Linked DNA regions of Homo sapiens: region 1 is linked to region 2. Evidence: promoter capture Hi-C in 16 types of primary human blood cells and fetal thymus (Javierre and others, 2016). All regions are on one chromosome and are shown on one strand. The core of a region is centred on a gene start or on the middle of the fragment in contact, and the rest is flanking DNA. Distances in the headings are between cores, read along the strand shown.

Region 1 (3,320 bases), core at 661-3,160, 590 kb after region 2:
AGACGGTGATGAGAATAATCCTTACTGATTTGTGCTTTGGAATTATATATATATACTGACCTATTTCGATCTTCCTAAATATCTAGTGTAGTCTACAAAAATATCAATACTGATTTGATTTCAGAATACACACTAACAGATATAAGTGGGAAATGCTTTCTCTACAAGCATCCTGGGTGAAGAGAAAAAAGCAGCCCAGAGTTTACATATGTCATACATAACCCACAGAATAGACAATGTACACGTGGATAGGTAAGAACTGTCTGTTGTGATTCTATAGTGGGGAATTCCCACCTCCCAGGATGGCTATGAGGGATGTTAACTTTGATTTATACTTAGGAAAGCACTTGCAAATATGGGACTAAAATCCTAAGTATGGCTGCTGGGGCTCCCTCCATGTGGGAAGGGAAGTGCAATTATTTTTACTATGGGGTGTGTGTGTGTGTGTGTGTGTGTGTGTGTGTGTGTGTATTTCTCAGTCTTCATCTTTGAGTCTTGCCCTAAAATTCCCAGGGTCCAACCAGGAGTGCCTGAGCAGGTCAATGAAGGCTCTGCAGCAGTAAAAGGGACTGATCCTGGGTTTTCCTTGCTGTCCAAAGCAGCACTGGGAATTCAGGAAAAGAAATAGAAACCACATACAACTGGATGCCTAAAGCAACTGAAGTAGGGAATAAAAAAAGATATTAAAGAGAAATGCATGCACACATACACACACACACACACACACACACACACACACACACACAAAACCTGTACACGAGAGTTGCCATAGTTTAAAAAGTATATTATCACTCAGGCAAATAAGGAAAAAAAAACAGTACTTCCTATTATATCAAAACAAACACCTCTTCGCCATATATCCCCTATTCTAAGTCGGGCACCATAGGCTCCTAATTTGTCTGGGCAAACTCCTTCCTCCAAACCTGACGAAAGTGAGTTAAAGAAACTTCACTCCTCCCATATCTCCCCAATACCTTTCCCAAATCTATGAGCCCAAAGCCATCACATCCGATGAGCTTTATCAATGAGCAGCATTAAGTCTCCAATTCCATTTCATAGCAAAGGACAACATGAAAAGACACACCTGCATCTGTGTGAAAATCTGAGCTTTCTGGCACTCTTCCAGACTGGGCCCAAATGCAGCCATCACGTGCTCCTCTGTTCCAATCATCTGCACAATTTCCTGGTCACTCTCAACACCCATGGCCTAGGAAGGAAAGAAAAGATAGAAAGAGTGTTGGCTTTGTGTTAACTCACTGACATTTGCTTATGCTAATTTGGCATTGTTTGTGGGTATTACTTCTAAGCAAAAGCTAGCTCTTCTCTCAGAAATGGTGCCATCTGGCATTGGCAGCCTTGCCCAAGCTGCAGAAAAACCTGAAACAGATATTTTGATTAGAAAGTGGAAAACAAACATTCTCAAACATTTTTTGCATGTGTACTATCTGCTAAAATTTTTAAATATTCTAAGAGTTTCATCACGAAAAAAGGAGGCTGGGAGGTATGGTAAAGACAACTGGTCATGACTACAAAGGCAAACTGTAAAGACAAACAGCCAAAAGGCAGTGAATCAGAAAAGATGCATTGCTGAAAATAAGCAGAACCCCAATCAGTCTTGTCACAAAATTAATTTTTCTGAGAACTGTCAAATCACTCATATTTTTCCTAAAAAGGAAAAGAATTTTTCCTAAAACACGTTTTACCTCACTATTCTAAAGATATCAAACCAAACTTCATGCAGGTTTCAAAGGAGACTTAAAAAGTAGGAACACATGGGCCAGGCATGGTGGTTCACACCTGTAATCCTAGCACTTTGGGAGGCCGAGGCAGGTGGATCACCTGAGGTTGGGAGTTCAAGACCAGCTGGGCCAACGTGGCGAAACCTCATCTCTACTAAAAATACAAAAATTAGCCAGATGTGTTGGCATGTGCCTGTAATCCCAGCTACTCGGGAGGCTGAGGCAGGAGAATCGCTTGAACCCGGGCGGTGGAGGTTGCAGTGAGCTGAAATTGTGCCATTGCACTCCAGCCTGGGCAACGAGAGCAAAACTCCGTCTCGGGAAAAAAAATAAGAAAATAAAAAAAGTAGGAATACACTTAAGAGGTTTCAGAAACCCACTTAAGTGTTTCAAGGTGGCAGCAGCAACGCAAGTCTTTGTAGATTCCATATGGTACTAGGGCTCACTCCTTCACACATTTGCCTGGAATTTTGCCATATCAAGGAACACAGCATAATCTCACTAAATCTCTCCTGGAAGAGTAATAGTCAGCTTCTTAGAAGTGAGGGGAAAAGTTATGTTTGCATTAAAATTCTTCCTTCAGCTGTAGAGAAGACAGAACCAGAGGATAATTGTGTAGTTAGTGTTGATGCCCTAGTTCCCAGTTCTCCACACAAAAAAGAAAGGAAGGGAAAATCAAATCCCAAGTTCCAATGCAGAAAATCAAGGACATTATCCTCAGTACAACAGGGGCATCTATCTAAAAGTCCAGAGATCTGAGGTGTTTGTGCTAATATAATACCAACAACACACACAGACATTACAACTACTACTGTCATGCAACCTCTTCGCCTTTGTTTTCTCATTTGCATAAATGAAAAACCAGATCCCTTCCAGCTCAAAATGCTATGATTCTACATTTGACCTTCAGTGGTCTGCATTCTAAAAATTTGATTTGGATACTTTAGGATCCGATGTAAACTTATAGAAAGTTTTGAAGATTTGGGGGAAATCTGAATAGATCCCATGTCCCTTTTAGGCCAACATTGGTGGTTTTAAAAACCTTCATAGATTCTTTGATACTCCCTTCAAAAGGTGGAGACTAATTCCCCACCCCAAGTGCAGGCTAAGCTCAATGCCTCACCTCTATAGAAAAAAATGTGAAGGTGGCACGTATGATGACTTTGAAGGACTGGTCATAAAAGGCACTATAGCTGCCTGCTTGCTCTGTCTGAAAGTGCTCTCTCTGGGGGAAGATAGCTACCATGTCATGGAAACACACAAGCAGTCTGTGGCAAGGTCCGGTGGTGAGAAACTATGTCCTCTTACCAACAGCCAATGAGCACCTGCAGTTTTCTGTCAACTGCCATGGGGGTGAGTTATCCTGGAAGTAGATTCTCCAGGCTGCTTCAGTTCAGCCTTCAGATAACTGCAGCCCTGGCTGATTATCTTTTCTTTTGTTCTCTTTGGTGAAGCGGTCTTGCTTATGTTGCCCTGGCTGAAGGCAGTGGGTATTCACAGGTGCAATCATAGTGCTCTACAGCCTCAGGCTCCTGGGCTTAAGTGAACCTCCCACCTCAGCCTCCTGAGTAACTGGGACTA
Region 2 (3,167 bases), core at 277-2,776:
TGTAATTCCTTGCACAATTACGTGGAGCCCTAATACAAGCTTCCAGCACCCTGGTGCACATTTCTGCTCCCTCCCTCCTGACCAGTGATGGCAGCTTGCAGTTCTAAGTCCTGAGTTTACATTCCTTAACTTCCTTTTCTGTATCCTAATTTCCTTTTCCTAAGTGCAAATGACACACTTTGGTTAGTCTGGACCCCAAATCATTTTATTTCAGGAAAAAGTGTGCAATAAATCTATGCATAATAGAGTTTTTATATTCGGATAACTCAGGAGTTGCTGGACAAACACCCCCCAGCTGTACACATGAGTTGCTCAGATCATTCTAGAATATCCTAGAGATCAGAGGTGGGTGATCTTGAGGAGCCAGGATTCTTGCTGCTACTCAGTGGAGTTAAATGCACGTGTGAGCTCCTCTCAATATAGCCTGTTGAGCCTAAACTGCATAGTGAGACTAGACTCAAAGATTTAGTTAACATTTCCTGAGTTCCTACTGTGTGCCCAGCATTGTTGACAGAAAAAATAATCAGTAGCCTCAAGGAATTCACTCCACAGGGTGCGAGGGCAGTCTGTATGCCAGTGCCACCGACGGCAGAACTGTGCACAGTGTGCTACGAACACCTGACAGCAGACACCTCCAGCTGGGAAAACCAGTTTTCCTGACTCCAACTCCACACAAACAGAATCACCAGGCCCAGCTCAGGGCACCCTGTCCTCGATAACACTTAACTAGGTGTGATTAGTCACGTTATTAGTTGTTGATATCTCTGCCCTCCACTAGAATGTAAGCTCCATAAGGACAGGGAATGTGTTTTATTCCCCCTCTATTTTCTCATTGCTGTTTCAATATGCTTGGCACTTAGCAGGCCTGCCATAAATACTTGTTTTTTGGATGGATAAATGTGAAAATAAATGAGAGAGACATTCAGCCTGGCTTTAAGGAGAAATTAACGTGTTTAGTGTATGAGGTTGGGCATCACCGGTAATAATTAGAATGGAAACCACTTGGCAGTTTATCAGAAAAGGGGAGTATTTAGGTGAAGGTGGCAAGGAGGGAGAGAAAGGAGAATGGCTTTTAAAGACAGTCGCTAACTGCTGGGGTAGGGTGGGGGCGGGGAAGAGTTCAGATGTGTTTCAAAGAACTTTGGGGGTTTTTTAAACATTTCTTTTGTAAGTTGGTTCTTTACCTAACTGAATTATTTTGGGAACAGTGATTGGCTCTATCTTAAAGATATAGCGGTTTCTGTTACTTCTTTTTTTTCTTATATTTTCTAAGCGTCAAAGCTACTGGAACTCCGCTTCCTAAAATGCTGGGAAGGAAAGGGTGTGAAAATGCCAGATGCCCCCGCCAGCACAGGCTGGGCTGCCTGGAAAGCCGATTCCCACTCCGACTCGCCCTCGTGGTGCGGGGAGGGACGCGTAGTTGTGTCCCGCGCTCTGACTGGCTGCGTTGGGACGCGGGGGCGTGTCTTGGGGGGGCGGGGGTTGGCGGTCATCTCCCGAGCCCTGATTGGCCATGGGCGAAGGGACTGATGGCCTGGTTGGCGCTGCTGAGAACTGTCGGGAGCTTCTTGAGACCGAGGACCGAAATCCCGGCTCCAGGCCTCGGGGACTGCGGACTGTGGGGAGGCTGGCCGGAGAGAGAGGGAAGGACGGGGCCTGGCCCCCGGGACTCCCTGTGCCTTGCTTGGAGCTGACGCCGACGGGTGAGTCGCCCCCTTCCTCTGCTCCTGGGCGTGTTCCTCACCAGCGGCGCCGCAGCGGTCAGGGCCCGCAAAACCCCACGCCTCGCCAGACGCTCAGCTCAGCCTGCCGGGTTTCTCTGGAAAAGCGGAGGCCCCACAGTGAATGTGCGGCCTTTTGATCGGTCCTGGAGATCTTCCGTGGACCCTCGTTTTTCCTTGCTTATAAACGTTGGTCAATTTGAAACTGGCAGCAGGGCATATGTGTTACGAAAGAAGAACTTTATTGAAACCAGTGGTGGTGTAGAGAAGACCATACTAACCATAACTGTGTATTACAGAAGTGAATTTCACTCCCCAAAAATGCTTAAGAAACAAGCATCCTAGAACAGCCCACATTGTGATTTAACAAACATTTACCAAAAGCATTGCTATATGTGGGGGCACAGGGCTAAGAGCAGGCAGGACTCTGGAGCCAACCTGTGGGGTTTGAGTCCAAATTCTGCCGGTTTTTTGTTTTTTGTTTTTTTTTTTAGCTGAGTAACCTTGGGCAAGTTCCTTTACCTGCGTCTGTTTCCTCATTTTAAAATGAGTTGTTGTGATGATTTAATGATTTAGTATATGTGAAGAGTTTTCTGCATATTCTAAGTGATTTATGGTATTAACTCGTTTGATCTTTGCAGTCACCCAGGAGATAGTATCACCATTTTCCTGATGCCAAACTGAGGCTCAGAGAGGTGAAGTAACTTCTTCAAGTCACAACACAACTGTTGTCCAGGAATCAGGCAGTCTGGCTCTGCTAACCCAGTTTTACCCACTGCATTAATGTACCGCATCCACTTGTTCACTCAGTTTCACCTGACAAATACTAATTTTGTCTCTCTGTGGAACAAGTTCTTTGCTGGGTGCAGGGAATAAAGCAGAACACCGTTCAGTTCCTGCCTTCCCAACGCTTGTAAATCTAGTGCAGGTCATTCATGGCCGGGCTGCAGGGTGTCCATGAATCCTGCTAAAATCATTTGCGAAATGTTGTGAGCGTGGGTCTTTTCTTCTGGAAAGAGAGTCTGTGACTCTCAGGTTCTGAGTTGATCTGTGATCCAAACAGAGGTGTGAAGAAGTGTTGTTTTAGCAGATCTGTGCCTAGTATGCCTGATACACAGCTTGAACTTCAAACAAACAGCAACAAAATTCCTACTGGTTGGAAGAATGAAGAACTTGTAAGAGCATAATAAGTGCTGCAGTAGCGTCCGGAGCAGGGTGCTGTGGAAGAGCACACAGAAGGCCACCTGCCCAGGAATGCCTCCTAGAGGCAGTGAAGGCAGCTGGGTGAAGGATAGGGAAGCAGTTCATTGGAACACTGTGGTGACCAGTCTGTCCATGTAGTGTTGAGACAGAAACAACACGTGAACAGCTGCAGCTGTTGTACCACTTGTGCGCAAGTGTAAAAGTCCATGGTGCCATGAAATCATGTAATGGGGACAGGAGGCT

The links. The method cuts DNA at HindIII sites, captures the fragments that hold promoters and counts their contacts. A CHiCAGO score of 5 or more calls a contact.
Region 1: a contact is called between a fragment that was not itself captured here and the fragment with the promoter of MTERF2 in region 2, in 1 of 17 cell types (naive CD8 T cells). The highest score is 5.4, in naive CD8 T cells.

The regions. Positions count from the first base shown.
Region 1 is chr12:106,390,918-106,394,237 of GRCh38, reverse strand. It overlaps POLR3B (RNA polymerase III subunit B), which reads right to left. Exons shown (of 28, transcript NM_018082.6): 10 at 1,085-1,207. Among named protein-coding and RNA genes, the nearest start is that of POLR3B, 35 kb to the right of the region's middle. The HindIII fragment of the contact is 6,020 bases long and covers 1-3,320 here.
Region 2 is chr12:106,985,505-106,988,671 of GRCh38, reverse strand. It overlaps MTERF2 (mitochondrial transcription termination factor 2), which reads left to right and starts at 1,526. Exons shown (of 3, transcript NM_001033050.3): 1 at 1,526-1,703. The HindIII fragment of the contact is 15,581 bases long and covers 42-3,167 here.